Regions from separate parts of the Homo sapiens genome. Here all the other regions are linked to region 1. Evidence: promoter capture Hi-C in human tissues and cell types (Jung and others, 2019). All regions are on one chromosome and are shown on one strand. Each heading gives the region's core, a stretch centred on a gene start or on the middle of the fragment in contact. The rest is flanking DNA. Distances are from core to core; before and after follow the strand shown.

What was found. The method cuts DNA at HindIII sites, captures the fragments that hold promoters and counts their contacts. A contact is called where the count stands out against the background at its distance.
Region 2: a fragment that was not itself captured here is called in contact with the fragment with the promoter of RP9 in region 1 in 1 of the 25 tissues and cell types used here (lymphoblastoid cells).
Region 3: a fragment that was not itself captured here is called in contact with the fragment with the promoter of RP9 in region 1 in 1 of the 25 tissues and cell types used here (hippocampus).

The regions. Positions count from the first base shown.
Region 1 is chr7:33,108,072-33,110,771 of GRCh38, forward strand. RP9 (RP9 pre-mRNA splicing factor) reads right to left here and starts at 1,333. Exons shown (of 6, transcript NM_203288.2): 1 at 1,150-1,333. The coding sequence starts at 1,301. RefSeq lists silencers at 989-1,218, 1,229-1,708. The HindIII fragment of the contact is 15,438 bases long and covers 1-2,700 here.
Region 2 is chr7:33,070,982-33,073,681 of GRCh38, forward strand. All of the region lies in intron 2 of LOC124901610 (a long non-coding RNA gene), which reads left to right. Among named protein-coding and RNA genes, the nearest start is that of NT5C3A, 9.6 kb to the left of the region's middle. The HindIII fragment of the contact is 6,422 bases long and covers 1-2,700 here.
Region 3 is chr7:33,045,773-33,048,472 of GRCh38, forward strand. The region is part of intron 1 of NT5C3A (5'-nucleotidase, cytosolic IIIA); the gene reads right to left. It also overlaps the pseudogene RN7SL505P. Among named protein-coding and RNA genes, the nearest start is that of NT5C3A, 16 kb to the right of the region's middle. The HindIII fragment of the contact is 3,512 bases long and covers 1-2,700 here.

The DNA of each region.
Region 1 (2,700 bases), core at 83-2,582:
ACATCTACTTAGGTTACAGTTCACTAAGTACAGAGAAACTTTTAGGCTAAACTTAAAATATTCAAGGAGGCAGCGTTAGGCTATACTTAACACCTACTTAGCACAGGTAACTAGAAGTGGCTAAAACAGAAACGAATTCTTGAATAACTGAGTGAATGCCACACTTAGAAAAGGTTGTTTTATGCAGCTAATTATAGAATCACGGACAAGAACTGAAAGAGTTGCTGCCTGAACTTTCCACTCGAGGTCTGTGTTAGAATTTAGGAAACGCCACCCTGATAAATGACTGCAAAAGACAAGAATGCACCATCCCCAAACATGCCACCCTGGCATATTGATGACTTTGAGCTATAAGTAACAGAACCAAACAACACAGGATAACTTATTCAGCTACCCCTCAACTGCCTAAAATAAAGTATGACTGCTTTTTTTCCTTTTGTTCTTATTATTTTTCGACTCGCCTGTTGTAAACAGAAATTTACACCTATAAAGGAAATTTTCTGTAGTAAATGTATCTGTATCAGGAAGACAGCTGCTTGGGGGCAACTTTTATCGCCTGAGCGCCTCATCGGGATAACAAAGCAACCTTTATTCACCATACATTTCCCCCATCACCCTTCCAAAAGGTCTCCACCACGCCCCAAAAGGCCCACGCCCCTATTCCCTGGCCCTTCTTTGTCTCCCACTTTTGTGGCCCTCTAGTGCACGGGTACATAATTAAAAGTTTTTCTCCTGTTAATCTGTCTTATGACAATTTAATTTGTGGCCCAGCTTAAGAACTTAGAAGGGTAGAGGGAAACCATATTTCCTTCCCCTACATTTGAATCTTCTTTACACCACACTCTCCCGGGTCATTTGGACTCTCCTGGAACCCCCTGGAGCTAGGGAAGCGCAGGGCCTCCCAAGTCAGATTCTGCTTGGTGCCGAGCGGCAGTTGGCTCCCTGAACGCCCCGCCAGGAGGATGGACTTCAAGTCCTTGACCGCGGCGCCCGACATCGGTCGCCCGCACCAGGCTCCTGCCGGGCCCAGCCCCCCTGCCTGCTCGCGGGGGCTCGGAGGACCCGGCCTAGCGCCCACCGCGGCGTCCCGCGCCCCGGGCCCCTGGCTTCAGAAGACTGGCCGCGCGCGGACGGCAGCTCGGGACTCACAAGGACTCCAGGTGCTTGAGCTGCTGCAGCTGCTGCGCGTCGTGTCGCCGCCGCTTCTGCTCCCGACGTCGCTGCAGCTCCTGCTCCGGCGGCTCACGCGGCCGCCGCGCGCCCGCAGCCCCCACGTCCTCGCGCCCAGGCCGGGACGACATGTCAGCCCCCGCAGCGCCGCTCGGGCAACCCCCGCGGCGCGGCTCCGGCGGCGGCGGCGGCGGCGGCGGCAGCCAAGAGAGCACTTCCTCCGCGCGGCGGTCGCGGGGCTTCGCAGCGCCCCCTCCCGCCGCCGCCCCGCAACTCACCCCGGCGGCCCCGAAGTCTCAGCCTCGGCCACCCGATCCCCGCCTCCCCGCGTCGGGCCCCAAGTCAGGGGCTCCGGGTCTCGGGCCCAGCCGCCAGGCGGGCTGCTGCGGGTGGGTGGGGAGCGCCGCCTAGCTGGAGCCGAAGCGGGGCGAGGCGCTAGTTGGGAGCCTGGAGGTTCCCGCCCGGCCACACCCACCTCAGGTATACTAGCAACAGTCACATAGGGATGAGCAGATGAAATGTATTCATAAAAAAATGTTCAAATTAGCCAGGCGTGGTGGCGGGCGCCAGTAGTCCCAGCTACTTGGGTGGCTGAGGCAGGAGAATTGCTTGAACCCAGGAGGCAGAGGTTGCAGTGAGCCGAGATGGTGCCCCTGCACTCCAGTCTGGGCGAAAAAGCGAGATTGTCTCTCAGAAAAAAAAAAAAAAAAGTGTTCAAAAAGTGAAATGTATAAACATATAATTATGTTCGGTAATAGTGTGCACCCAGCTTTATAACTGCGGTCATCTGATATACCATGAGAGACAACCTAACTCTTTTGACAGGATGGGTCACCATGACGTCACCACTGTGCCAGTCACCCGAGGAGCCAAGATCCTGAGAAATTTCATCTTTCACAAATGCAGATGTACAGAAAAGACACTTATTTATTTATCGAGGAAATTTCTACATTTTTGCATATATGTAGAATGCTTACACAGTCACCATTGTAATAATGAGCTTTGATTGAGTCATATTTGCAAAAAATGCATAAAACAAATTTGAACTCTCTAAAAGTCTTTATATAGTTGATGCCTCCAGTATTAGAAATGATGTTAAGATGTAATACATAGCATAGTGAATTGTAAAACATAATGCTGACAATTTACAATAATGAAAAAGCTAAAAGAGAAAATAGAAAAACGAAAGCAAACTAAAAAGAAAATTCAACATAGAAAAAGTGTATTGCAGGGATAGATTATGGGCAATTGCATGGCGATTGTCCACATGAACTGCCCAACTTTTATGATGATTAACATATTTTGAAGTCTTGCATCATGATGAATAGCTTTTTTTTTTTTCTTTTAGGACATGGCTCTCCTCGATGATACAGTCTCATTAATTTTCTATGTGATACTGCTCTTTCCAAAATTCTTTTTAACTTTTTAAAGTTTTTTATTTTGTAGAGACGGGGTCTCGCTATGCTGCTTAGGCTGGCCTTGAACTCCTGGCCTCAAGCAATCCTCCTGCCATAGCCTCCCAAAACACTG
Region 2 (2,700 bases), core at 9-2,508, 37 kb before region 1:
GGACTTGCCTTATCTCAGACTAGACTTCGGACTTTCGAGATAATGCTGGAATAAGTTAAAACTTCGGGAGACTCTTGAAAAGGAATTATTTTATTTTGCAACATGAGAAGGACATGAGATTTGGAGGGGCCCGGGGTGCAATAATATGGTTTGGACCTGTGTTCCCACCAAATCTCATGTTGAATTGTAATTCTCAGTGTTGGAGGTGGGGCCTGGTGGAAGATGATTGATCATGGGGTTAGAGTTCTCATGAATAGGCTAGCACCATCCCCTATTCTTGTGACAGTGAGTGAGTTATTGTGAGATCTGGTTGTTTAAAAGTGTGTAGCATGTCCCCTGCCTCCCCCACCCCGACCCCACACCACCCCTGCTCCTTCTCTGGCCATGTGAAGTGCTGCTCCCTCTTTGCCTTCTGCCATGATTGTAAGTTTCCTGAGGCCTCCCCAGAAGCAGAAGCTTCTATGTTTGCTGTACAGCCTGCAGAACCCAAAGCCAATTAAACCTCTTTTCTTTATAAATTACCCAGTCTCAGTATTTCTTTATAACAGTCTGAGAATGGACTATTACAGACATTTTCTTATAATTTGCATTGTGGCTCTTTTGCTTGGGAATGTTTCAACCCAGTGGGAGAACATGCAAATCATAACCCACATGAATTTATATCCCTGAACAGGAGATAATTGAACGAAATGTGTTTGTCAAATATCAAAGGGTCCAGCAGAAAGGGAGAAGTGCCTCTGTGACTCACAGAGGGGCTAGATTATGTTTATTTAGCATAAACCTTATAAGCTATTGTGGGTGAAGGTTTTCAGTAGTATTGTTTTTCTCATGCAATCATTTTTTTTTTTTAGGTCTCCAGTGTATAAGCTCATAGATGTGTTGTAACATAGGAAATTGAAATCCCATAGGCAAATGGGTTTGTCATTGAGTCCATACCATAGGTTACAAGTGGTAGCGGGGAATATTTGCCTTTTGTTAACCATATTTCTTTTCTCTCTCTCTTTTCTTTCATTCTTTTCTTTCTTTTTTTGAGACATGGTATCATTCTGTCTACCAGGTTGGAGTACAGTGCCACAATCATGGCTCACTGCAGCCACAACCTCCTGGGCCCAATCAATCCTCCTGCCTCAGCCTCCTGAGTAACTGGGGACTGCAGGTACCTGCCAACATGCCTGGCTAATTTTTGTATTTTTTTTTTTGTAGAGACAGGGTTTCACCATGTTGCCTAGACTGGTCTCAAATTCCTCGGCTCAGGTGATCCTCCTGCCTCAGCCTCCCAAAGTGTTGGGATTACAGGCATGAGCCACCACACTCAGCCTGCTAATCATATTTCTTTTTCCTTTTCTGAGGCTCTTTCTTGAGCATCCTGACATTCCCTTTTAATTGGGTTCCATTTAAGCATGGCTATTTCTATGATTTCATCTCATACTGGTAATAGGGCAGCTGTCTTTGCTGCTACATCAGTAAAATGGCTTCCCTTACTTTCCAGAGACTCAGTTTTTGAATATCTAGGGATCTTATAGCCAAATTTATTTTTGTAATTGAATGGCTTCTATAAGTTTAGAGACGTGAGAGCCATGTTTTGTAGGGTGTCTAGAGGAAGTCAGATGACCTTGTTATTTCTGTAACATTCCGAAGTCATGAGCTACACCAAAAGCATAGTGACTGTCAGTGTAAATTTTAGCTGTCTGATCTTTGGCCAACTGGCAAGTTCTAGTGAGCTCTATTAATTCAGCCAGCTGAGGTGATATCACCATAAGGAAAGGCTTACTTTTTGTAATGTCCACAAAAGACACAACAGCATAGCCTGCTCAATATTTTCCAATATTTATCCTTTAGATATGATCTATCACCAAATAACATCAGCATTCTCTAGTGTTTTTTTGTTTTGTTTTGTTTTGTTTTGTTTTAACAAATCCTGTCTGGCCATCAAGAGCTATACTGTTAGTGATATATAATCACAGGGCATCTCATCAGTCACTTTAGGCAGCAGGGAAGTGAGCTTAAGAGCATTATAATGAAGATTGTATTATGTGAGGGAGAGAGTAAAAGTATCTCATAAGACACCAGCTGGCCAGGCACGGTTGCTTACTCCTATAATCCCAGCATTTTGGGAGGCTGAGGCGGGAGGATGGCTTGAGCCCAGGAGTTTGAGACCAGCCTGGGCAACATAGCGAGACCTCCAACTCTACAGAAAAATTAAAAAATTAGCTGGTTGTGTGGTGGCATGTCTGTTATCCCAGCTACTCAGGGGTGCTGAGATGGGAGGATTGCTTGAGCCCAGGAGATTGAGGCTGCAGTGAGCTATGATCATGCCACTGCACTCTATCCTGGTGACAGTGTGGGACCCTGTCTCAACAAAACAAAAGAAGCCAACCTGCTAATAGAAAAAGGTTAAGTGCAATGCAAATTTAGAAGAGCTTCAGCAGAAGGAGGTACATACGTAGTGGAACTTTCATTACAATTTCCTGAGTAGCCTTGAGAAGTGCAACTATGGCTGAGATGGCTCTTAAACAAGGGGGTAATCCACATGCTACAGAAGCTAGTTGTTGGCAGTAATAGCTGATACGTCTATGTTGTCCCCGTGTTTTGGGGCCAGAATGCGTAAGGTGATTCCATGACTTCCATGGACAAAGTGGAAAAATGGTTACTAGTAATTTGGATGTCTTCAATCAGGGGCTTTTATAAAACTATCCTTTA
Region 3 (2,700 bases), core at 172-2,671, 62 kb before region 1:
ATTAAAATTTTTTTTAAAAAAACATAGAGACAGGGTCTCATTATGTTGCCCAGGCTGTAGTACGGTGGCTATTCACAGGCATGACCCCACCACTGATCAGCTTAGGAGTATGGACCTGCTCTGTTTTCAACCAGGGCTAGTTCACCCCTCCTCAGGCAACCTGGTGGTCCCCTGCTCCCAGGAGGTTCCTATATTGATGCCGAACTTAGTGCAGACACTTGATTGGCACAGCACACTAAAGCTTGGAACTCCTGGGCTCAAGTGATCCTTTCACCTCAACCTCCCAGGGACCATAGGCGCTAGGCCAGTACGCCCAGCCTCATGTTTTTTATCATTTAAGATCACTGCAAAAACTTATCCTAGTAGATGACTGTGAGTGAGACTGATTGCAGCCTTATGAATTTACAGACATATGTATATGCAAACTGATGAGAACCTATGGTTCCCATCTCAATGTATTTCTTAAACTTTGCAAAAATCTAGGCCTGGGGCTGAGGCTCACATCTGTAATCCCAGCACCTTGGGAAGTCGAGGTAGAAGGATTGCTTGAGCCCAGGAGTTTGAGACCAGCCTGGGCAACATACAGAGGCCCTGTATCCACAAAAAATGTTAAAAAATTAGCCAAGTGTGGTGGCATGTGCCTGTAGCCCCAACTTCTCAGGAGGCTGAGGTGGAAGGATCACTTCAGCCCAGAAGGTAGAGGCTGCAGTACAATCATGCCACTGCACTTCAGCCTGTGTGACAGGGGGAGGTTGTCTCAAAAAAAAAAAAATTGCAAAAATCTAGATCAAGTAATTTAATTTTCAAAAACTCAAGTAAAATTGTTGAACATGAACTATATCTTTTTTACTTTCTTACTTAAAAAGCATTAAATTCTGTTTTAAACTTTTAGCAGAAATGACACTGATGTTACAATAGGTAGGTCAGGTTCAAGAAAATAGGATGTAAGACAATAACATAAATGAAGGGAGTCTTTCCTGGCTCTCCTTTCAAATGCCATATGTTTGAATATTTCAAGATGCTTAGCACTGACTTTTTTTTTTTTTTTGGAGATGGAGTCTCATTCTGTCGCCCAAGCTGGAGTGCAGTGGTGCAATCTTGGCTCACTGCAGCCTCTGCTTCCCGGGTTCAAACAATTCTACTGCCTTAGCCTCTGGAGTAGTGGGGACCACAGGTGCACCCTGCCACACCTGGCTTCTTTTTTTTTTTTTTTTAAGAGTCGGGTCTTGCTATGGGGTGTAGTAGGTTGGTCTTGAACTCCTATGCTCAAGCGATCCTCTCACCTCAGCCTCCCGAATCTTTTTATTTTATTATAGCTGAATCTCTATGATTGAAATGAAACAAGATGAAAAGCTTTCTGTTTTAATTTTGGACTCCTTCTACATCTCACAATTGGTATTCCTGCCCTTAAAAAGAAACAAACAATATTGTTTAAGATCACTATTTTGTTATAAGTTAAATTAAAAATGGCAAAAAGGTAATGCAATTTAAGCTTTTATTATTGGTGCACTATATCGAGTACATCTAAATGAGGAGTAAAAAGTTAAGATTTAACTTACTACCCTTCCTTCTTACTGTGCCACATAAACACATTAAGTAAATACTAAGGCAAGAGAACAATAAACAAAATTATTTTGAGATTTAAATTCATGAATTAATAGTAACTAGTAGCAAAATTATCTGAAATCATATGAAGGACTGGCGGGTGATAACTTGAGTTGAATACTATGCATCAATTAAATACATTTTTAAATAGTTATGATATCCATGTGATATAATAGCATAAATACAATATAGTTATGAAAATATAAGTATAAATTTATAAACAAATTAAGTAAACAATCTTGATTTAAAACATTACAGAATGACTTCATTTGGGTAAAAAAATTATACTTAATTATATACATAGAAAAATAAAGGAAGTACACTTACTAAAACGGGGGTCTTTTAAGGTGGTGAAAATTATAGATTTCTTTTGCTCATCTAGATTCACTTTTATATCAACGTGTATTGTATGATATAAAAAGAATCAATACAAAATAAAATAGATAAATTATTTATTTATTTGAGACAGGGTCTCACTCTATCACCCAGACTGGAGTGCAGTGGTATGATCTTAGCTTACCAGCCTCAACCTTCTGGGGTCAAGTGATCCTCCTGCCTCAGCCTCTCAAGTAGCTGGAACTATAGGCATGTGCCACCACACCTGGCTTTTATATGTGTATGTGTGTGTGTGTGTGTGTGTCTTTTGATTTCTTACTTAAATAGGATTAAATTCTGTATTTAAATAAACTTTTAGAGGAAATGACATTTATGTTGCAATAGGTAGGTCAGGTCCAAGAAAACAGGATGTAAGATAATACCATAAATGGCGTCTTCATTTATAGTATTGATACATTTGATTTGTGTGTGTGTGTGTGTGTGTGGTTTTTTTTTGATGTATTTGATTTTTAGTAGAGATGAGGTCCCCTTATTTTGCCCAGGCTGGTCTCTAACTCTTAGGCTCAGGTGATCCTCCTGCCTCCACCTCCCAACGTGCTGGGATTACAGGTATGAGCCACCTTGCCCGGCCTGGTAAATAGTTTAAAATAAACAAATTCCTTATAAAAAGCTGGATCATAATTCAGGTACTCATGAGTCCAATTATTAAGACTTCTTTAAAGTTAGGTCACATGACTGGAAACCCATGAATGTGGACCT